Linked DNA regions of Homo sapiens: all the other regions are linked to region 6. Evidence: promoter capture Hi-C in 16 types of primary human blood cells and fetal thymus (Javierre and others, 2016). All regions are on one chromosome and are shown on one strand. The core of a region is centred on a gene start or on the middle of the fragment in contact, and the rest is flanking DNA. Distances in the headings are between cores, read along the strand shown.

Region 1 (3,205 bases), core at 203-2,702, 490 kb after region 6:
TATAGGCTGGGCGCGGTAGCTCATGCCTGTAATCCCAGCACTTTGGAAGGCCGAGGCGGGCGGATCACTAGGTCAAGAGTTCGAGACCAGCCTGACGAACATACTGAAACCCCGTCTCTACTAAAAATATAAAAATTAGCTGTGTGTAGTGGCGCACGCCTGTAATCCCAGCTACTTGGGAGGCTGGGGCAGAAGAATCGCTTGAACCTGGGAGGCAGAGGTTGCAGTGAGCCGAGATCGTACCACTGCATTCCAGCCTGGGTGACAGGGCGAGATTCCATCTCAAAAAAAAAAAAAAAAATTATGGTATTATAATGTCTATGTTAAATTTGTTTCGTTACTTGTAGGAATGGCAAAGTTGTGACAAAGCAGAAGAGTTCATAGATACATGTTTGTTTTACAAGGGCATTTTATGTGTTTTAGCAGAAAGGTTAACATTTTGACTGATATATTTACGAAGGTTATAAGAAGGAAAAGCTAAAATTAATATTTCACAATTCTAATTGCTTTTGCTTGGCTCCTCTCTGCATAGTATGTATTCTGGTTTTTAAATATTTAAAATTTCATCTCCTCTGGTGTAAAGTGGAAATGAAATAATTTGGGGTGGCAGATTTTTGTTAATGATAGTCTCCTTGCTCCTTTTTTAAAGCAGAGTAATGCTCATGTTGTATCTTTCTAGCATTAAGAAAAATTATTTGCTGAAATGACAATTTCTTAAGCAGTAACAACGTCTAGAGAGTGAACATTTATAACATGCTACTTTGTGTTGTGTGATAGATATAATTGATAATTCTGCTTTTTCCTGTTGACTAATTTCTAACTGTCATGATATATATCTTTCTGAAGTATTATTTTTGGTAGGTTCAGGCAGATTGCAGAAAGGCAGGTATCTTTGTTTGCCAACATTCTCGTATAATCATGGATTGTTAGAAGTGGAAGGGATTCAGAATGATTCTAGGGTATCTCTTCATTTTCATAGTTGAAGAAACTGAGACCCTATCAGGGGACAGAGTTAGGAGAGGGGTGTGTGTGTGTGTATATGAGTACGTAACAAAATCATGGGTTCCTACTGATATCTTCAGTTCTAACCTTGCATCTTGGAGTTGTTTGTAAATACCTCCTTTGGCAGTAACATAGCACCCATTATCCTCAATATATTTTATTTGCACAATCAAAAATAATTTTCTGTATGTAGACCTCCCAATTACACTGCTATCTTCATTGTTTATCACCTCTAGGCCATCTTTGTTCCTTTGCCACTGCACCTGTTGCCCTGGGCCTGTGCACACCCCCAACCCTTTCTCACTGCCCTGTGTCCTTAGCTACCTCAGCCACTATGCTGATTCCTGAATACTGGAGACAAAAGGGAAGGCAAGATGAAAAGGGAAGGTTATACTTCTTTATTAATTCACATAGATTACCCTTGGCTCTGCCTGCCACATTTTCATGAGAATTTCTTTTATTTTTCAGATTCCTCTCTTTATAGTAGCCTGAGAATCTCTAGGTAGTTACTCATTCTTAGAATTGGTCCTGGTTACTATTTTCACAGAAGAGAAACATGAAAATCTGATTACCAAAGGGGTTGTGCTTCCTGCAGTTCAGTGTAGTCTTTGTCCACTAGAAGGAAGAACATTGTTCTCCCAGCAGCCTGACACACCACAGTAATGTATGTGTATGCTGCCATTGCTGGTTCAGCATTTATTTCTGTTGGTGGAGTGAGGCTCAGCCATGGTCTTTCTAGTTCTGTAGTTACAGCTTCTTCAGAATACACAGACACACAAAGCCATTTCTTGGTAATTCACTCTGAGGAGTAAATACTTCCTCAGAGCCAGGGGATTGGTTGGGAGGAGTTTGCAGTTCTAGACAGCCAGATAGCATTGTTTCTGAAAAGACGTCTTGTAAAACTTTAGCATTCTGGCCCTTGAGCATAGAACAGTCCTTTCTGTTCTCAAATCTATTGTCTTAAGCCTTTTCCTACCTCAGGATCATGAGTAACTGTTTTTTTTGTTTTTTTTTTTTTTAGAAGTAATAGAAAACTTGCCTCAGAATAGCTTCAATAAGAAAGGAAATGAATGTGCTCAGATAACTGGCAGAATTCACTGATAGCATGGGCATAGGCCTGGCACACGCCACTTCTTTTTTTTTTTTTTTGAGACAGTCTTGCTCTGTCACCCAGGCTGGAGTGTAGTGGCACCATCACGGCTCACTGCAACCTGTGCTTTTTGGGTTCAAGCAGTTCTCTTGCCTCAGCCTCCCCAGTAGCTGAGATTACAGGCACCCGCCACCATGCCTGGGGCTGCTTTCCTAGATACACAGAAAACAAGGTGGATAGGTGAGAAGCACTAGAAATATCCATTCAGTTATTAGTGGGGATTAGGTTCAGGGCTGTTGTTTAAGGAGCCCTTAAACTTTAAATTTCAACACAGGAATGGAGGTCCCTGTGTAAGGATTGGGAATGGGACCTAATAACTGCTCCCTCAAGGTGAGTTGCGAGTCAGCTGGCCATCTCCATCTCCCATGCATTACCTTGATGTACCTTCCAGTCCACCATCTGCTTGTGCACCAGGCTGCACCTACTGTTCCATGATGGAAGGGAAGGTAGAAGTTGGGCTGGAAGGAGATGTTGGTCCAGATCTGGGTACATTTACCCTTGTGGTACCTCTTGGGAGCAAGAAAGTCCAGGCCCTGGAGCCTTCCACTGACAACTCTTGAAGGCCCACCTCAACTGAAGCCTCACTGATAGCACTTTCATGAGATGCTGGTCAGGGAAGAGCTTCTGATTTGGCCTAGGCTAGTGGCAGTGCCACCAGGCAATTGCTTAAAATCTTCTTTCTGCCAAATTCTGTGATGTATTAAAGTATGCGATACATGAAAATTGAGAGTGGCTTTGGTTTTGTTGTAGGTCTGGATCTATTTACCTTTATTAAGCTCTGGAGACTGACATATGATATTTTTAGATGTATGAGTGCAGATTTATGGAGATATTGGTTCTGGATTTAGTATGAGATGCTAAACCTGGTCCCCATTGTTCTCAAGGAGATGATTACAGAAGTGACACACATATGAAACAATTGAAGAACAAAGTAACACCTCTGTGGCAATTATTATTAAAGTTATTAGAGATTCAGAGATCAGATCCTTCTGGTGCAAAGCTAAGAGATGGGTATTAAGCTATTCCTGAAGACGAGCCAAATATGGGTAGTTG
Region 2 (3,354 bases), core at 394-2,893, 430 kb after region 6:
TGTAACTAAGTACATCTGCAACAATCCTATTTCTAAATAAGGTCACATTCTGAGGTACTGGGGGTTAGTACCTCAACATATGATTTTCTTGGGACAGAGTTTAACCCATATCACATGTCTATCACTAAAGCAGCTATTGTGGTTTAAGGGATAGCCTAGCCTAAGATCATGTGTCTGCCCCTTTAGATGGGGTATCATGGGAGCTGAGAGTCAGTGTGTTCCTGAAACCACAATATCCCAAACAAAAATGGATGATTGTTAGGAATGGGGAGAGGGGAGAATGAAGATGGGGAGGCAGACAACAATTGTCTACTACCTAGAAAAGACACTGAATATGAATTAAATGTACAAAGTTTTTCACTTTGTAATTTCTTTCAAGCCAAGCTGCCCAGTGCCCAAAAACCTAACTATGAAAATGCATCTGAAATTCTTTTACTTTTGGGTTTAAAGCTACTTCTGATTTTGTGTATTGCAAAGTTTAAATAAATTTTTAATAAGTTTTGACTGTTTTATAAATTTGCCTTGAAAGCAACTTTAAAAATGTAAAAAAAATTTTACATTTGCCACACATTTTTATTTTAGATAAGTCAAGATATTCTATGTATATTTGTGATTTATCATCCCAATATTCCAGTGTAGAAAGAAGGATATGTGGCAGATTTTTGCAAAATTTTACAATTTTTTTCTACTTTCTGGGTAGAAGTGGGGGATCTATACTGAGAGAAAAGACAGAACTTGGGTTCCTAAGTTTGTAATAAATTCATTTCAGCCAACTGCACCTAAGCTTTCTACCTTGTTGTTAAGAAATAAGAGTATTTATGAACTTTGAATTCCATTCTTCTTCACTTCTTTCTACTCATTCTTCCCCTTCCAAACATACTTTTTAAAAAATTAATACTTTAAAAAAATTTGAAATATCACAGACTTACAGAAAATTAAGTAGAAAATAGCAACTTTTTCTTTAAACCATTTGAGAATAAGTTCCCAGCCTGATGTCTTGGCACCCCCAATACTTGTTAGTGTTTATTTCCTTCAAACAGAACATTTTCCTGCATAACCACAATTCAACATCCAAATAAGAAAATTAATGTTTATAAGTTACTACCATCTAACCTCCAGACCCCATTCAAGTTTCACCAGTTTTCTCAATCACATTCCACAGGCAATTTTAATTCACATGTATTATTTAGTTGTCACGTCTCTTTAATCTCCTTCAGTCTGCAATAGATTCTTAGTTTCTCTTAGATTTTCATGGACTTTGTTACTTTTGAAGATTATCAGCAGTTATTTTGTATCTCTCAGTTTGGGTTTATCTGATGTTTCTGCCTAGATTCAAGTTAGACATTTCAAGTAGTACTGTAACAGAAGTTATGCTATGTTCTTTTCATTGCATTCTATCAGATTACATGATTTTGATTCAGCCCAATTCTGATTGACTTTATCAAAATTTATCCATTCTATTGTTGATAGGCATTTGGCTTTTGTTTTCTTTTTTTTTTTTTGGTTATCACAAATACTGCTGCTCTGAACATTGTAGCACATATTTTGGAAAACATATTTCTGTTGGTTATGTGTTTAGGAATGGAATTGTAGGGTATTGAGTATATCTGTGTACAGCTTTAATGGATTTAGATTTACTTTAAATGGATTTATTCTGGCTGAGTGGGGTGGCTCACACCTGTAACCCTCGTCCTTTGGGAGGAGGAGGTGGGAGGATTGCTTGAGCTCAGGAGTTTGAGACCAGCCTGGGCAACATAGTGAGAATCAGTCTCTACTAAAAACAACAACAACAACAACAGCAACAACAACAACAACAACAAAATAGCCAGTCGTGGTGGCATGTGCCCGTAGTCCCAGCTACTTGGGAGGCTGGGGTGGGGGGATCACTTGAGCCTGGGAGATCAAGGCTGCAATGAGCTATAATCATGCCATTGCACCCCAGCTTGGGCGACAGAGTGATACCCTGTCTCAAAAAAAAAAAAAAAAAAAAAAGAACGAAAGAAAGAAAGAAAGAAAAGGATTTGTCCTGATTACAGGTGGGTTGTGGAGAGTTCTGGCCTTGGTGTCTTGGATTTAATAGAAGACAGACAGTGACTTGCTTTCTCCTGGGTGGTTCAGGGCCGAGCCTGGTTGAGAGGAGGTCCAGAGAACACTTTTTCTTATGTAGGAGAGTGGTGGGAGTTGTTGCCTGGGAGCCTGTCCTGACAGCTGTGGAAAGGAGCAGGAGGGAAGCGAAGGAGTTCATTTAGGGCTGTGGCGAAGTAGAAATCTAAACCTATTGCTATGGTCTCTTTATTACTGTCCTTTCCATTGAGGAAGGTTTTGACCTTGGAGTATGTAATTGAAAACTTTCAGCTTTATAAATGGAAATATTCTTGTAGGATAAGAAAAAGTACCCTAAAGTAGATTTTTTGAAAGGTATTTTGATGAGTGGTAGAGGATGAAATAAATGGTTCTGGGGGAAGTTGTAAATTGATGAGAGTTTTACCCCAGGTGACAACTGAAAGCTTATTCTTAACCTGTGACCATATGACTTTTATAATATGACTATCTAGCTTTTGAACATGGTTTAGGACTGATAAAAAATTGACATTACTTTTTCCTTTGATAGGAACTCTGTGGCCCAGAACCTTCCCTTTAAGTCCCAAGATTGTGCTAAGTATATCTCCTTTGTGTTCCCACAGCATTCTGCACACGACCAAATTACGGTGAAATTATTCTCATTATGTGTTTTCCTCCTCAATTAAAATGTAAGTTCTTTGAGAGTGAGGAATTTCTCTTAATTCAAATTTTTATCTGGTATAGCATGTGGCACATAGGGTTAGTGGTCAGTAAAATTTTATTGAACTGACAGATACCAAATAATGATATAAACTTGCTTTTGTTCACAGTTTACTGTTTATACATACTGTTAATCCCACTATAAGTCACTGAGAGAGAAAGGGGTTATAATGTGCATTATATGGATGAGGAAAATGCAGCACAGAGAGGCCAAAGTAATTTGTCTAAGATTATGTTGGCTAATAATTGCTGGAGCCCTGACTTGATCTCAGGTTTTCTGATTGTAATTCTTAGGGTCTTTTGATGGTAACTGTGCCTTTGTCAGGAGTTGTATAACCAGGTGATTTAGGTCTTCAAACTCTGATAAAATATTCAAAGGTAAGTATATTAAGGTCCAGTCACAGAGCAGGCCCAAGGGGTGAATTTGGAGCTACGGTAGAATAGATTGATAACCAGTTAGGGAAAAGAATGAGGGAAAGATAGATTTTTTTTGCTTCATATGGCAATTTTAGAAGCTATAGCCAGTTCTTTTATTTAATGGTTTATTTTTAAATAACTTTTTATTTGTTCATC
Region 3 (3,517 bases), core at 195-2,694, 470 kb after region 6:
CAAGGTGTGGTTTCCTAGGGCATAGTGGCTGGCATCATGCAGGCAGGGAATTTGGGCTCCAGCCAAATACTCTGAGCTAGAGACTGGGTCCAGTTCCAGCAATTCTGTTAATATATATTTACCAGACTCTGGTATGATTTTGTATGAATTTATTATAGGATTGGAGATGAGGGCAGGAGGGAGGGGTAGTATGTAGTAGTGGTTGCATTCATATTTAACCCTCGGTTTTTGAATAAAGTCTTACATTTGGGAATTTTTTTTTAATAAATAAAATGTCTTGCTAATGTAAGTGTTACTCCCACCAATATAGAAGACAGCACTCAAATTCTCATTCTCTTTTGTAACCAGATCATAAGCATATGACTTATACTTCGTTGATTAGACTCACCTCTCACAGGACTTTGATTTGGAACTGAGGAAACAGAACAGGACTTTGATTTGGAACTGAGGAAACAGAATCTTCATCGAGCTTTTGTGTTTGGTGGTGGCAGTGGTGGATGTGAGCAGAGACTTTCTGCCTTTGGTGGCAGCAGTGTCTTTTTGGTGGTTGCTAGATTGATTTCCCACAGTGGGAGTGGTTTTCTTTAGTACTCTGTGGGATGCTAAACAGCAGTGATGGCCATTTTCTATTAATAATTAGTCCTGTTTTAGAACTAATTAGTTCCTCTTTTGAGCCTGGAAGCTTAACTTTAAGAATAGTTTTTTGGCCAGGCACAGTGGCTCGTGCCTGTAATCTCAGCACTTTGGGAGGCCAAGGCGGGTAGATCACGAGGTCAGGGGTTCAAGACCAATGTGACCAACGTGGTGAAACCCTGTCTCTACTAAAAATACAAAAATTAGCTGGGTGTGGTGGCGTGCACCTGTAATCCCAGCTACTCAGGAGGCTGAGGCAGGAGAATCCCTTGAACCCAGAAGGCGGAGGTTGCGGTGAGCTGAGATTGCACCATTGCACTCCAGCCTGGGTGACAGAGGGAGACTCCATCTCAAAAAAAAAGAATAATATTTCATCTTCCCAACAATTCTGTGAGCTTCCTAGTAGCCTTTTAATAAACTCATTTTCTGCTAGTCAGCTTCTTCCATGTTCAGCTAACAATCTTAGCTGGTCCTGGGTTGATTAGAAGATAAGGCAGCAAAATGAAGACAGAGGCTTTTTGATATCTGCCAGGATGGCTAAGAATTGATCCAAAATCCATGGGGACTTGGTATCAGATTGTATTTTGGGGTGAATTGGAGGAGGAAGGAAAATAACTATGTTGATAGTAGGTCTGTTTGGATGTTGGAGGGTATGGAACAATGATTTTAGTTTTGGACATGTTTACTTTGAGATGCCATAGAAATATTCACTTGTGGAGATATCTGGCATGTAATTGGAAATGTAATTCTAGCATTCAGAAAAGAGATCAGGGATAGTAGTGACAGTTATTCAAGGTTGCATTGAAATTGGATTAGAGTACTAAGGGTAGCAGCATGAAATGGGGAGAAAGGAGAGGCTTTTCACAATTACAGGGCAGATGGTGGAAGGAGACAGTGAAGAAATCTGAAAACGAATCTTCTAGAAGGATGGAAGAGCACTCAGAGAAGCTCAAAGATGGTAGACCAAGGAGCAGATAGTCAGGAGTATGAAGACTGAGAAGAGGCCATTGTATTTAGTGATTTTCAAGAAAGTCATAGAAAATAGAACAAAACCTTACAGTGGTGAATAAAGGACTAAAGTAATATCTGGAACAAAAGAGATTAAATAAAATTTGAGTCAAAAATTTTATTAGACATATTTAGAGCCCAAATCACAAAATAAAGTTTGAAACCAGAGACACAACCCCTATCTTTTTCCTTAACAGATTTTTATCAGGCTAGTTGTTAAGTTTGTCTATTTGAGTAATGGCACTGATATATCAAATTCTTTTGTTTTAATGAAGCAACAGCTCTCTAGTATGCAAAACTTGGGAAAATATTTTGCTTTACAATTTTAGTGTTCATTAAGCCTTATTATGTAAGCTGTAAGCAAATGTTAGAGAATTTTAAATGTTTGTGACATCTGTGTTTTTATTGTGAATGTGAGTTTTCTTTTGTAAGTATTACAATGATCATTGTTAACAGTTTGACCTTGCTTTACATTTTTGCCAGACTATTCAGTGATAGCTATTTGCATGCTGTCTTTCCTTTTATTTCAGCTTTCCATCCCACTTCCTCTTATGTTGCCAAATGAGAAGCTTGACTATTGGTGGTTAGAGTCTCTGCCACTCAAGATTTTCATTTTTCTGTATTTTGAAGTACTGTCTTTGTATGCTTTTCTTTTCTCCATTCAAAGAGCAGTCTCTTTACATTTGATATTCTGATAGAATTTATCTGCTGAAAATCAAAGTCTGTGCTCCTTGAATTCTGGCTTCAAAATAATCATCTAGAATAGATGTAAGATACTAGAACCAGATGAAAGATTCAAAAGATGTCAGTCTTAATTTATAAGTTTATTATCTACAAGACTGGATCTTGACTGTACCAGTCTTAAAAATATATCTTGCATTATAATTTGAGCTATGACATTTCATCAAACGTACAGTTTAAATTTATAGAACTCTTTTTTTTGCATTAATTTATGTAGTCAAATAGAAGACATTAAATTCAAAAGTATTTCTTTTCTTTCTTTTTTTTTTTTTTGAGATGGAGTCTCTCTCAGTCGCCCAGGCTGGAATGCAATGGTGTGATCTCGGCTCACTGCAACCTCTGCCTCCTGGATCAAGTAATTCTCCCACCTCAGCCTCCCAAGTAGCTGGGATTACAGGCACCCACTTTTTGTATTTTTGTAGAGACAAAGTTTCACCATGTTGGCCGGGCTGGTCTTGAACTCCTGACCTCAGGTGATCCTCCCGCCTTGGCCTCCCAAAGTGCTGGGATTACAGGTGTGAGCCATCATGCTCAGCTGAAAATATTTCTTAAAGATTTATATTTTCTGTCATTATTTTATGCAGTGCTTTAAAATTAATTGCTATTAACTTTTAATTAATGGAATATGATGACCTGAGTATTATTACATATCACAGAACTTTAATGTAAAGATACATCAATGAAATTTAGAATTTTACTTAGATACCAAGTTAATATACCAAAAATCCATTTAGACTAATTTTATTAAAACAAATGTATCAGAATTTCAGTGGCAATAATACTGTTTACATTTTTTTGATGGAATTCTTTTTTTTTTACATGGTATGGCTAGTATACAAATGATAGGGTTTTATGCTAAACAGGTTTTTTTTCCCCACATGCAGCAGAACTCTGCTTACATTATGACCTTTCAGAATAAATTGGCAAGCAGGTCAGATACCAAGAGCTAAGAAAGGATGGAAACAAATGTAGTATTTTGCAGGTGAATTTTTGAGATGCCCCATTTACTTGAAATTTTAAATAATGGAGGTAAAAGACTTTAGTTGAAGTTTGAATGTCTCAGAATGATGAATAAGGAGTTTGTCAGGTATTATATTTTCAGTGTTAGTGCAGAGTAATTCCTTGTAACACAAAT
Region 4 (3,254 bases), core at 213-2,712, 390 kb after region 6:
ACTAGAGTCTTTTGGCAGTGTTACTCATGGTTTCTGAAGGTGTTCTGAAAAAAGATACTGAGCTTTTAAATGTATACTTTTTTTTTTTGAGACGGAGTCTCACTCTGTCGCCCAGGCTGGAGTCCAATGGCATGATCTCAGCTCACTGCAACCTCCTCCGCCTCCTGGGTTCAAATGATTCTCCTGCCCCAGCCTCCCGAGTAGCTGGGATTACAGTCGCCCACCACCATGCCTGGCTAATTTTTGTATTTTTGGTAGAGACGGGGTTTCACTATATTGGTCAGGCTGGTCTTGAACTCCTGACCTTGTGACCCGCCTACCTCGGCCTCCCAAAGTGTTGGGATTACAGGCGTGAGTCACCACGCCCAGCCATGTATACATTTTTAAAAATTCCATAATCTTTATAATCTTTCCCTCTTTCCTCCAAGTTCCCTGAAAAGTTAATTCTTTTTGGCTGAAGTCTTGTGTCATGGTCTAGTTCAGAGTCTAGGTCAGATTGCCTTATCCTAGGTCTTTTGGATGAGAATAAGAACCAGGGATGTGGAGGGCAAATGGAGTTGTAAAGGTAATCATTTTGTGTTCTCAGTCTTTGAGTGGCTTAATCTGAGTTACAAAGGGAGGAGGAAGTAGTTGCGTAACAAATCCATTTGGTCCAGGCCCTGTGAATATATCCATTCTGCTACTCCCCACCCCTCTGAAGGCATACAAAGGACAACAGCACAGTTAATACCCCTATTCTGGACTTGTCTCCATTTATTCTCTGCTTGCTTCTGTTTGTTTATCTCCATGACTTTCAAATACCTTGTGCTGTACTTCGGCTATTGATACCTGCCTCCTGTCTGGCTTTGTTTCCTGTTCATCTCTGGTCAAAGTGTGCTCTCCCCATTCCAGGAGAATCCTTCTGTTATCTTGGAGCTTAATAGCCAAATATATTCCAATTCCCTTTAGTTGGTCCAAGGAATAAGGCTTCTGTATGAATATTGGAAAACCCAGAGGACTGTTTCCAGACTTGGATGGGGTCCTTGTTTTCTAAAGGAGGAATATTTATTGATGACTGTATAAGTAGTGGACTTATTAAGGTTTAGATTTATCTGGTGATATAAGGAGACTGAGGAGAGATTATCACTAATAGCTAACATTTGTAATGTGTTTGTTAAGTGCCAGGCACTTTGGTAAATACTTCACATGGGTAAAAAAATTTAACTTCTTCTTCTGTGGTAGAGACAGTTTTGCTCTGTCGCCTAGGCTGGAGTGCAGTGGTGTGATCACAGCTCACTGCAGCCTTGAACTCTTGGGCTGAAGTGATCCTCCCACCTCAGCCTCCCAAGTAGCTGGGAATACAGGCGCATGCCACCCTGCCTGGCTAATTTTTTCTTTTATAGAAATAAGTTCTTACTGTGTTGCCTAGGCTGGTCTTGAACTTCAGGCCTTAAGTGATCCTTGCAACTTGGCCTCCCATAGTGCTGGAATTACAGGTGTGAGTCACTGTGACCAGCCAGGTTTATGTAATTTAATCCTCACAACAGCTCCATGAGGAAACTGAAGCTCAGACAGGTTAAGTAACTTTCCTTAAAATTAGTCTTCTAAATATTTAGAGATGTATAAGTCACAAAGCATGTTACTAAATATATGAGTAGATTTCTTCACAGCTTAACTATTGAAATGAAGTGGAATAGATGCTGACATTTAAGGTGACAGGGCCCATCAAAAGTGCTATACAAACACAGGTGTGAGTTTAGAGATTTACATTAGTTTCGGAAATTAAAGCATTAACTATAATTTTACTGAGATGTTTCATTTTAGCTGACAGTTGTTGGCAGGAATGGAAACCAAATATATTAAATATACCATTGGTAGCTTTCTCGGTATAATATTGCCATCTCTAGGGAAAACATTATATTCATCCAACTTAGTCGTTGAGGGGTTTGTTTTCTAGCCCGTAGTTTTTCTATGCCCTTTTTGTTTTTCTTCTCTGCTACCTTTTGTTTATCTTTTTAAAAACATTTTTCAGATCACATTGTATATTTTAGTTCATGTTCAACAATTAACTCATGTATAATATTCAAAGATCAGTGTAAATCAAAATCCAGGCAGTAGGTAAAAAATATATTTTTAAAATTTTAAATTAAGTTTTATCAGGCAGTAGATTTTGTACTTGAAGTGGGAGTCATTATTTTAATAGGCCAGGAAAAGAAAAGTTATGGACTTGAGTTGGTTTTTTTTACTATCTCACAAGAGAGATGCCATAGAGGAAAGCCTACTGTTTCAAACTGAGCCTTTCACAAGGATGGCTTGTTGGTTCAGTCCAGTAGTTCTGGACTATAGGGGTTATAGTCACCCCTGCTGGATATTTTGGCCATCTTTATGGTATTTTTGGTGTTTGTAAAAATGATTGGCAAGTCCAACAGGTGTTTAGTAGACAGGAGATGGGGATGCTGGTGCATTTACAGTGCACTGAGTAGTTCTGTACAACCACAGATTTTCCCACATCCTTCCTGCCCTTTTTTTTTTTTTTTTTTTTTGAGACAGAGTCTCTCTGTTGCCAAGCTGAAGTGCAGTGGCGCGATCTCGGCTCACTGCAACCTCTGCCTCCCGGGTTCAAGCTATTATCTGCCTCAGTCTCCCAAGTAGCTGGGACTATAGGTGTGTGCCACCCCGACCAGCTAATTTTTGTATTTTTAGTAGAGACGGGTTTTCACCATTTTCGTCAGGATGGTCTTGATCTCTTGACCTGGTGATCTGCCTGCTTCGGCCTTCCAAAGTGCTGGGATTACAGACGTGAGACACCATGCCTGGCCTCCTTTTTGACTTTTTATATTCATGTGAACAACAACAGAAACCCAGAAACCAAAAAACTAAACTGTTTCTAATTATCTGAATCTACAACTAAACACTGTTCTATAAATCAACACAAAATATTTTTCCCCCATATTTTTGGTATACCCTCATTGTTCCTGGACTCCAACTAGCCTATGAGTTGAGGAAGATAATACTTTGTTTCGTTCTGAGTGTTTCTGAGTTCGCTTTTTTGACAAAGAACATCACTGATGTGGTATTTGAAACACCAATGCACACACCGTGTCAGTTTGCATTGGTAGGTGGGTTATTCCCGATGTTTTTGCTGATGGGTATGGTATCTAACTACTTGATCATGTAGTCTAGGGCACTGTGTCTGATCAATTATGTATGCCACTATTTTTTTGTTTTAAATTTTTAAATATTTTATATATATTTAGTTATGGAATTCTATTGAT
Region 5 (3,145 bases), core at 316-2,815, 410 kb after region 6:
TGATTATAAATGACAAAAAAATTTGTGAGTGAAGTACCATACTATCCTATCAATTTTAGTTAATTAATTCAGCCACAGAGTGGTAATTATTTCCTTTTTTATTTTCTATTTTTGTCTCTTTGTTAAAGATTTTCCAATTAAAATTTTTTCCTATTATATGGCTCTCCTTTATACATTTAAATGAAGAAAGTACTTTGTAAGAACTGGATTACAGATAGAAAAAAATGTTTAAAACTAACTTATTTTAGGTTGATAAATATTTGGGTTATTTATCACTGTGTCAGAAATACCTCCAAACCTAAAACAACAATTCCAAAACCTAACATTAAAACTTAAAATCAAAACTTAATTCTAAAACTTAAAACAGTACCCATCTTATTATATCTCACACTTTCGAGGGTTAGGGATTCAGAATGGGCTTACAGGGCAATTGTTCTGTTCCACATAGTATTATATATGGGCTTTCTTAGTTGACAACTAGTCTGGTCTAGGATGTCTAAGACAGCTTTACTCACATGCTTGTGCATATGTGAGGACTTCTAAAAGGCTGGACTCTGCTGGACGCCTTTCCATGTGATCCCTCAAACGAGGTGGTTGGACTTCTTACTTCATGATCTAGGACTCCAAGTGAACAAGGCAGAATCTGCCAGTCCTCTCAAAAAATAGGCCTGGGCCTGGCAGGGCATCACTCGTTCCTGTCAAAGTAGTCACAGGCCAGGCCAGATTCAAGGGGAGGGCAAATAGATCTTAGCTCTCAACGGAGGATGTGTCAAAGACTTTGCAGCCATCTTTAATCCCCATGTACTCCAGATTGATGATTACATCACAGTGCATTTGGGAAACAAATTGCCCTTTATAATCACAGTATTTGCTACCAATATAGAACCTATATTTATTTGAAATGATAATAACAGTATTAAAAATTATGATATTTGCTTTCAGCATTTGATCTATTCACAGTTTTAATTTCTTTATAAATGAAATGATTCCTAATTGTTTTATATATATCATATATATATCATACATTTATTTTAGAAAAGCGGATTCTTTTCCTGGGATATGCTGTTTAGACCAGTGATGTATGTCGAACCACTAATGGACCTTAAAAAAAAACATACAGCTCAGGGCTTCAGTCTGTAGGTCTGGGTGGCACCAGGAATCTGTAATTTTAAAAAGCTTCACTGGCAAGTAATGTACATACTTACTTAATGACCAGGGTCTAAGAAAGCTCTGTAGATTCAAATAGAAACTATCCAAACTATTTATAAATGTGATTGAGTATTGTTGATTGGAAGCTTATAGAAGCTTAAATCTCTGGGAAGCCTTATTTATATCTTTACTTTTGATGCCAGTGTACTAGACTAGTGGTTCCAACATGGCATCCCCAAGATGATCATTTGGGAATGTGGGAAAGAAATAAATAATACAACATATATTTTTAGTCTCATCCGTTCCACATTTTGGGGATGGGTATGGCATGTTTTAAGTGCAGAATGTACAGTAATACATACATATAATTTATAAATAAATATACATATATTGGAAGTATGTGCTGAAAAAACTTCATTGATGACAATGTGTGATGCAAAGATGAAGGTCACTGTTCCAGTCAGTTTAGTTTATGCATTGGTAACGACCCCCAAACCTCAGTGACTTATAGAAAGGTTTGTTCCTTGTTCATATTCTGTGTCTTCATGGGCCAGCTACAACCCTGCTGTGTGTCATTTTGTCCCTGGACTCAGGCAGATCGAGTAGGCTCTGTATACCGGAACTTCACCAGTTGCTGCGGCAAAAGGAGGAGAGAACTGGGTAAAATACATGCTCAGAAAGCTTTTGCTTAGGAATAACACACGTCACTTCCACTCACATTTCACTGGCCAAAGCAAGTCACTTGGCTACACTTTAGTTCAGCAGGTAGGGGGTGTATAATTCTCCCTCAGTGAGGGACTCAGTACAGGGTGAATAGCGATACAGTCTACACAGACATCCACTACCCTTCTATTTACTGTGTAGAGTATTTGCCTCTCTAGAGCTGCTCCTTAATCTGCTTTCAGGATTTCAACAGAGTGAAATTGCCTCTCTCAGTTCCTGGTTTGATGAAGAATATAAAAAAGAAAAAGACACACAGCCAAAATCCTTAATTCTGTTAGCAAGGCAGCATATAAAACAACATAATTTTGGAATATGGAAATATAACTTTGCCAAAACAGTTAAAACCCAGTGTAATTTTTACTTGATAAAAAACTATACCGTTATACCATGTGCTACCATTTGAAACATTCAGGTACTGACTGTTGAGTGGGTGGATATGAATAATAGGGATTGAGATGTGGGGAATTATGAGTAGTAGTGGCAAGAGCAGAACTTCAAAGCTAGAATGTTCAGAGTCTCTGTTGATTGGACATTAATCAGAGTGAAGGTTGAGCATCTCTAAAATAGTAATGTAAGTCACTCAAAAAATGTGTGTTTCATGTTGAGCCATTTGTTTATACACCTCTTTTTAGGAGGATGTTTACTTTGTGAAGCATACTACACCTTGATTATAAGATGTTGCAGTGATAACCTAGCTGGCTTTTATCAGTTATTTTGAATTCCCCTATACACCAAGACCTGTGTTAGTTTAATGAAATGACAAGTTTATAGAAACTGCATTAGTTGCAGTAAACATTTCACTTTATTACTTGAGGAAAAAGCCTGAAATACAGAAACTAATCAAAATGTAAATTACAGGTAGTAACAACAAGTGTTTACCATGTACTAAGGGTGTGCTGTATGTTAGGCCTATTGTACACACTTTACATACTTTATTTAATCCCAAGAAAAGCTACATGAGATAGGTATGATTTTCTTCATTTTATCCCTGAAGAAACTAAGGTGTAAAGAGGTTAACTAACCTGTTTAAGATTCAAAGACAGGTTTCTATGATTTTGAAAACTATTCTCTCTACTACTTTACTCTGCTTTTATAATTGTTCCACTCTATCTGTTTTTACTTGTATTCTTTGTTAGTAGAAGTAGGAAGCCATTTAATCTTGTCTTGCTCTTTCAGAGAATGAGTATTTTTTTTAGGTATGCAGCAGGTAATCTCATTTAGGAGAACCTAAATAAATGAAATATCCTTATATTTTGTCCAATAGTTTTTAAGG
Region 6 (3,401 bases), core at 40-2,539:
GCAGCACTTTTAGGGTTTGCCTTTTCCCCTCTTGTACAACAGCTCCACTACACAAGAAATTTGCTAAAACCGTTCGCTGGGCACTAATATGAAATCACTTAAAAGGAAACATGCCACTTTCGGCTAGGGGACAGCATGTTCGTCATTCAGTGTCCTACTGGTTTCTTAACACGCATATAATTAATATTGGTACTCAGGAAAGAGAACTTCTTCTGACCTTGAGCGTGCGCGCTAAATAAATTACCTCAGAACGAAAGTGGTGCGATCTCAAAACAGCATCTGGGGAGAAAAGAGATAAATGAGACTTCATTTAACTCCTTGTTCTTCACCTACCGAGTGACTCATGACTTACCTGGGAGACCAGGGTTGGGAAAGCACATCGCAGACTCCTGGAATTCGGTGGGACATCCTGGGGGAGGGAGGAGGAGTCCTGGGGCCATCGGTCTCTACGTGATTTCTCCGCGAGAAGTTTGCATGAAAGTTCTGGGGGAGTTGGGGAGCCCCGAAGTTTCCATGCCTTACTTTCTTACCCCTACGCTCCAGCGAAGGATGCGTGAAGGCGAGGCTGGCGCAGCCCCGGACTACGCTCAAATTACCCTTAAGGCTTTAGCAAACTGACTAAAAATTTGAGTTCTTTCCTCCCCTCCCTGCCCTCGGCATCGCCGTGGTTATTCAAACCTGGGAGACTGGAGGGCGGAGGTGACGGCAAAAAGGGCAAGGGGCGTTAAAGAAACGCACTCAGCCTGGGGAGTGGGCAATGATGGGGCTAGGGGCAGCCGAGGAGAAGGGAGCGAGCCGCGCTTCACTCTCCAAATCGGCTTAATTGTTCCTGGTAGCCCGCAGAAACCCGTCGCGGCGTGTCTTACCTCGGCTTCTTGAACGACCCGAGAAGACCGATTTCATCGGATGCCTCCCTTTCTGGAGCTTGCGGTGCCAGCAGCAGAAGAAGACGATGGTGGCGATGGTGCCCAGCAGAAGCAACAAGAGGAAGAGGGCACATTGGATGCTGTAGGGTCTCAGCAAGACGAGGAAAGCCGCGGCGATCATGGTGCGGGCGAGGCGAGGGCGACTCGACGGCGGGGCTGGAGGGCGGCGGCACAGGCACCCGCGCTGGGCGCACGCCGGGACGGCGGGCACGGGTGAGCGCGGCTCAGCGCGTCATGCCTGGCGCTCGCGGCCCCGCGCCCAGCCCAATGGCTGCGCACCCCGCGCCAGCCGCGCTACGCGAGTGATCCAGGGCTGCGGGGAGCGCTTGCCATGACTCAGCAGACAGCGACGAGGCTGCGACTCGGCGGCTGGGATCCTCTCCCCTCCCTCCCCAGGCGCCCCCGCCCCCGTCCGTGCGCAGCCCCCGGGCGCAGCCCCGCCGGGGACGCGGCGAGTGGGGAGGAGCAGCGCCGCCGCCGCGGCCGCCCGGGCCCCGCGCATCGTCCTGCGGCCGCCGCCGACCTCAGCATCCCAGAAGCCGGGCGCACGTGGGTCGGGGCGGGGACGCGGCGCTCAGGCTGCAGCCGCGGCAGCCTGCGGGGGGCGGGAATGGGGCGCCGCGGCGGGGGCTCGGCTGATGACATCACGGCCAGGCTGCGGCAGCGCGGGCGCGCGGACATGGCTGCGGCGGTTTCGGCGGCGTCCGCGGGCTGCACCCGGGCCTGAGAGCCCAGCGCCCTCCCGCGGGGCCGCCCGCCAGTCCGCGCCGTCCGCGGGTGCATTGGCCGGGTGCCTCTAGCTTCCCGGACACCCGGAGCTTCCGCCTATCCAGCCTCCCTCGGCCAAATTGCTGCGGAGCCCGTCGTCAGGGGGCGCCAAGGAGCCAGGGGGAAAACCGAGAGGCGCTGACAGGAGCCTCCCGGCGGTGCTACCCTCCACCTCCCACCTCCCTGCGCCCCGCCCCGAGGTTGGGGCTTTGAAGAATGCAGCCGGGTGAGCTATTGCTTGTGGGGGTTTCCTCGCACTCTGAAGCGCGAGCGCCGGGAAGGGCCTTCCCTGGGAATTGGGATACTCCAGGAACGGGAGGCCCACTCCTCTCCAAGCCTCTCTAAACTAGGAGCGCTCCGGGGTAGTACGCTCTGGTCGGCAGAGGTGAACTCTTCCACCCCAAACTTGGTGCTTATCTCGCAGCTAAGAATTGGGCACTTTCGATCTTCTTGTATCCCTGGGTTTGCCCTAAAACCCTGACTCATTTAGTGCATTTGAAGGGCAAGGCGATTTCAGATTTAGGGACCTGGCAGATGAAGTAAGTTGGTACTTGGCTTATAAACATTTGGGGGAGAAATTTTTTAGGGAGTGTGAGGCAATAGTGATCTCTCACACTTGCAGGCACACTCTGTCTCCCCTTTGTCCCCTCCCCACGTTTCTTCATAACCAGCAAAAAGTATATGGCAGTTGGTGGCCAGGGGATTTAACACTGATGCAATGCCAGCACGGAAGGTATAGCGAGAGCGCTGCAGTGTGCCTTTCTGCGGACGGCCACGGCCACCTGGCCAGGAAGCGGCTGCTGCAGCAGTCATTCTGCGGCATCTTGCGGCCTTGGCGGGCGGTGCTGTGCCGCGTTCTGCTGCCCCCAAGGCAATGCTGGCTTTCCCTGTGTGGGGCTGGATTGTTTGTTTCATTTACTCGCATAAGAAAACTTTAATTATAGTGACAAGGTAACACTTGACTGCATTTGCGGAGTTTCTTATAACAACTGTATTAGCCTCTTTTTTGGAATATTTAATAGACTGAAGAAATTGTGTCATAAAAATTTATAAAAATTTGAAAAGCAGGTAAATAATTGGGAGGAATAAAAGTTTTATTTGCTTGTAGTGATCTCAAAATCAGTGTTGTTTTCCAACTATACAAAACCGTACAGCTCTGCATGAAAGCTTAATCATTGATGTCCTTAAAGCCAGTAACATATTACCGTGTGTAAGTATTAAACCTAAAAAGGCATTGGTTAATGCAGTCTCTTAGTGCCAGATTCATAAGCATGGAAAACAACAGATACGTTTTGTTTACAGCTGGTTTCCTTAAACAAAATAAACATTCGAATTGTTGACATGTTGCATCTCATTCATTCAGTTGTTTTGGATTGAACTCAGAAGGGCCCTTGCTTGGAGACACTGCATAAGGTGGGAATTTTGAATGGCAGCATGTAGGCTGCACTGAATTCCAGGATAGGCTTCATGGGTCTCTAGCACTCAGAGTGGGTGACAGGTAGCACTACATCATGTGCATATGGCTAAAGGTTTCTTGATACCGCAGCCCACTGCAGTGAGAAACTATTCAACAATTATGCAGAGGTTATTGAAGAAAATCCTGAGAGTTTGCAATGTGTGGCACATCAGGAAAGGAAGAATTCTCCACCGCATTGACTCAACAATGGCATGGTGGAGTAATTTTAAACAACAAAACTGAACTAACCG
Region 7 (3,499 bases), core at 191-2,690, 410 kb before region 6:
CAGGCTTGACAAGCAATCTCTACTTATTACAAGGCTGCACCCTTTACTTTCTTACCTCATTCACCACTCACAAAAAGTTGGGAGCTATAATGCCTGCAAAGTACAGCATAATAACTCTACTCTCACATGCAGAGCTCCTGAGAGAAATTTTTCAACCTATTAAAAAAAGTCCTTAATGTGGATAGAGTACTTTGCAGGCCATAACAATATAATACTGTTTGTACCTTCATGACTAAGCCTGTTCAAGCTTAATAAATCCAATATAATGGCTCTTAAATGGCAGTGTCTTTACCACAATTTGTGTAAAAGCCTAACATTAACATATATTCACAGTGGAGGCCTTCTAAATGAAGGGGAATGGCCACCATCTGCACAATCAATAACAGGACCCTGAACAGCTGGGAATATCAATTCTTCTCCAAAACAGTCCCTATTAATTTGTTATAATTATCCATTTATCAATATGTGGCATCTTGCAGGGTGCTAGTCAAACCTCCAAAACAAAAGTGTGGATTTCATTATTATTAGAAACACTAGTGACCACTCTGAAACAGAACCACAAACTTTTAGCAGAACCGCAAACTTTTGACACTGCAGAGTTTCATATTTCCATGAATTACCTGAACCAACTGAAAGCCATTGCAGACTGTGTCCAATATTCCTGCCTGGGCCCCTGTTTTTCTGGGTGCTGCTTTCTTTCTTGCTGATACGAATTTCAGGGAGAACTTCTTATAGAGCATTTCGCTCTCCTGGGCAGAAAGAGGAGCCTCCACTTCCTCTTTAGATGCAATGTTGCATTCTCCTGAATCATATTGTGTCAAAAGTGTCACATTTTCTACTAAGCTGGTGCTACCACAATCTACATCACTCTCCCCTAGATCTGTGTGAGAGAGATCTAAATCTTGAGGGGAATCCTTCAAGAGTTCCCTACTTTGTGCTGTGATTTGGGATTCTCCAGGTCCGTATGTTTCGTCCTCTTCTCCAAGGTTAAAAATATGCTCATTTTCTCTATTTCTTGGCATAATTAATGGGTCACACTTCACAGGGCTCTCTTTCAAATTATTCTGCAGGCAACAATTTTCATCGTGGATTTCCCTTTGACCATTTACATGTTTTGCTTCCTCTAGTGGAGAAACATCATGTAAAATCATTTTGAAATTTTCATCAGGGTGGGCACTTTGACATGAAAGCAGTGGGATTTTCTGTTCGCTAATGGAATTAACAGAAAAAAATGGTCTGTATTGGTCTGTTACAAGAATATCTTCAGTAGAAGACAAACTTTTAATTCGTGACTGGTCTCCAGTTAAAATGCCCTGTTTTTCTTCCCTCTCTGCTGGAGGGCTACATAAACCAGAGTCATCCTCCTCCGAAGTGAGAGAATTAGTACCCCATCTGCACTTGCTGGCCTTGGTAACAGCATCTGACATATCAGCAGGTTCAACAAAAGAGCTTTCACTTTTGTTTGCATAATCCATAAAATTGGCCGGGACAAACATTCGCCATGACCGTCTATGCTCTTTCTTTTCCGCATGAGATTTGGCTTTAGGTAATCCTGTGGTTCGAATGATATCACTATTTAGTTTGAGTGCATCAAAGATCATCTTTTCATCTAGTTTGTTAGCTTCCCGACCTCTCAGCTCAAATACACTGGAAGAAGTAAGGGCACCATTAGAGCATAAAGAACTAACATCCAGTGTTCTGTGACTGTAGGGTAAAGTTCGATCTGTAAAATGCCTGGAAGATAGACTACCTTTTGAACCAGAGTCTATCTGTTCATTTAGTCTAACAGTATCATAGATTGACCGCTGTGGGACGTAACAGTCTTCGATATTTAGGTCCTCCTCTTCTTCACCCTTCCCTACACATGGGGGATTCTGACGTAAACAGTCTGGTCTGCTGAGTGGCTTCCCCATTTTGCAGATAGTTAAAACAAATATTGCAGCTCTTGACACAGATAAGAAATAAGATAAAGCATCTTCCAAAAAAGTATACTTCTGAACAGAGCTATGGAGTGTCTTTAGCATAAAGACACATGCTCAAATAATATATTTCATAATACATGAGGTGTTTAAGGTCATCAGCAGTGCATCAGTATAAATGCAACTATCCTTTTACCTGGTTGATTTTAGGATGATTCTAAACAATAAAGTGCATCAATAACAGAGAACAAAAATCTCCTTTGTCCACCTTTCCCAGCTCCCAAAGTCCCCGTTCACACACTCCAAAACACAGAAAATAAACAAACACACACTTAACAGTGGCTCAAACACTCAGAACATTCCATTGTCAGTCCATTTCCCTTTTTAGTCTGATATTTCCAGATTAAAATTTCCAAATGAGCAAGCATTTTAACAGCCTGAATGTTAATTTCGGCAGAGCTCTGGTTAACTGTAATCCACTTAAAGATGGCTTGCAGAACTCCACCATTCTGGTAAATAAACCATGCTCCAGAAATTTAAAAGACAAACACAGGGACCTGGTATTGTTCACATCAAGGCACAGAACAAATCTTCAGAGAAAAATAAGTTAAGTCTAACGTTATGAGAAAGTTACATTTTTCTTTTACTTTTTTTTTTTGGAGGGGGGAGTAGCTATAAATAAACTTGATTGAAAAGGCAGGTTTTCTTCCTGTTTTAAGCTTCTTCAATGCTATTCAGAACTACTCAAAGGAAGAAAGAAAAAAACACCAGACTTTTAGACACCCAGGGCAGTACAATCCAGCAACCGTTTAAAGTAAACAGAAAGCATGGTGTACTACTAAGCTTCTTTAAAAAAAAAAAAAAAAAAAAAAAAAAAGCCATTTCCAAAGATTCTTATCTGGTCCTCCTTAGGAAGGCTTATTCCACCTGAGGCAATTGCAGCAACGAAGAGCTCCGCGGCTTCCTCTAAGGCACAGGCAGCGTAATTCACATTGAGCAGAAAACCCAGGGACTACATTAGCCTTTGAAACTGAACCAAGTTCTGTGGCCGCGGTATGGCCTTCATTTCAGCTGGGGCTAGAGAGAGACGGTGGCGGTGGAGGCAGCAGAAAGAACTCCGGAAGGGAGCTCCGGGGCTGTCCGCGGCTCCTCAGGGCAGCACGGTGCCGGGCAGGCATGCTCTCCAGCCAGGGCGCTTGCAGCAACGCCCTCTCTCTTCAGGCACCATCTGCTGCGTCTCTGGGCCTGCCGGGCGTTCCGGAGCCGCAGCTCTCTACCACTTCGGTGCTACGCCCTCCCGTGACTTAACTTCGCAGTCATCTTTCGCTTCTTCCCGGGAGTCGGCGAGCGGTTTCAGTGGGAGGTACCTCGAAGCCGAGAGGCTGCAATGTAACAGCTTGTGGTGACATCAGCGCAAAGCAGGCCGAGTCCGGCCACTGGGGAGAGGGACAGCTCAGGTTCAAACACCGCGGAAACCCCGCCGACTACTTCAAAATGGGAGGGGATCCGTAGGGCTTGCGGAGGCAGAACCTGGCACCGGGAGATCCGCGAAGAAATTATTTTGTGAAGGTCCAGAGACC

The links. Contacts are between HindIII fragments. The CHiCAGO score rates a contact against its expected background, and 5 or more counts as called.
Region 1: a fragment that was not itself captured here is called in contact with the fragment with the promoter of DST in region 6 in 1 of 17 cell types (erythroblasts); the score reaches 5.6 in erythroblasts.
Region 2: a fragment that was not itself captured here is called in contact with the fragment with the promoter of DST in region 6 in 3 of 17 cell types (erythroblasts, total CD4 T cells and endothelial precursors); the score reaches 7.2 in erythroblasts.
Region 3: a fragment that was not itself captured here is called in contact with the fragment with the promoter of DST in region 6 in 1 of 17 cell types (total CD4 T cells); the score reaches 6.1 in total CD4 T cells.
Region 4: a contact is called between a fragment that was not itself captured here and the fragment with the promoter of DST in region 6, in 5 of 17 cell types (erythroblasts, activated CD4 T cells, naive CD8 T cells and 2 more). The highest score is 7.3, in erythroblasts.
Region 5: a fragment that was not itself captured here is called in contact with the fragment with the promoter of DST in region 6 in 1 of 17 cell types (activated CD4 T cells); the score reaches 5.5 in activated CD4 T cells.
Region 7: a contact is called between a fragment that was not itself captured here and the fragment with the promoter of DST in region 6, in 1 of 17 cell types (erythroblasts). The highest score is 5.1, in erythroblasts.

Annotation. Positions count from the first base shown.
Region 1 is chr6:57,444,283-57,447,487 of GRCh38, forward strand. The region is part of intron 7 of PRIM2 (DNA primase subunit 2); the gene reads left to right. Among named protein-coding and RNA genes, the nearest start is that of MIR548U, 56 kb to the left of the region's middle. The HindIII fragment of the contact is 3,968 bases long and covers 1-3,205 here.
Region 2 is chr6:57,384,448-57,387,801 of GRCh38, forward strand. The region is part of intron 7 of PRIM2 (DNA primase subunit 2); the gene reads left to right. Among named protein-coding and RNA genes, the nearest start is that of MIR548U, 4.0 kb to the right of the region's middle. The HindIII fragment of the contact is 1,723 bases long and covers 783-2,505 here.
Region 3 is chr6:57,419,518-57,423,034 of GRCh38, forward strand. All of the region lies in intron 7 of PRIM2 (DNA primase subunit 2), which reads left to right. Among named protein-coding and RNA genes, the nearest start is that of MIR548U, 31 kb to the left of the region's middle. The HindIII fragment of the contact is 1,528 bases long and covers 681-2,208 here.
Region 4 is chr6:57,346,247-57,349,500 of GRCh38, forward strand. The region is part of intron 5 of PRIM2 (DNA primase subunit 2); the gene reads left to right. Among named protein-coding and RNA genes, the nearest start is that of PRIM2, 30 kb to the left of the region's middle. RefSeq lists an enhancer at 709-1,209. The HindIII fragment of the contact is 8,245 bases long and covers 1-3,254 here.
Region 5 is chr6:57,367,181-57,370,325 of GRCh38, forward strand. The region is part of intron 5 of PRIM2 (DNA primase subunit 2); the gene reads left to right. Among named protein-coding and RNA genes, the nearest start is that of MIR548U, 21 kb to the right of the region's middle. The HindIII fragment of the contact is 525 bases long and covers 1,304-1,828 here.
Region 6 is chr6:56,953,541-56,956,941 of GRCh38, forward strand. DST (dystonin) reads right to left here and starts at 1,290. Exons shown (of 104, transcript NM_001374736.1): 1 at 867-1,290; 2 at 245-279. The coding sequence starts at 1,047. It overlaps BEND6 (BEN domain containing 6), which reads left to right and starts at 1,567. Exons shown (of 7, transcript NM_152731.3): 1 at 1,567-1,920. RefSeq lists an enhancer at 273-904 and a silencer at 1,066-1,755. The HindIII fragment of the contact is 5,182 bases long and covers 1-2,859 here.
Region 7 is chr6:56,539,660-56,543,158 of GRCh38, forward strand. The region is part of intron 61 of DST (dystonin); the gene reads right to left. Among named protein-coding and RNA genes, the nearest start is that of COL21A1, 290 kb to the left of the region's middle. RefSeq lists enhancers at 2,532-3,297, 3,002-3,421. The HindIII fragment of the contact is 2,391 bases long and covers 246-2,636 here.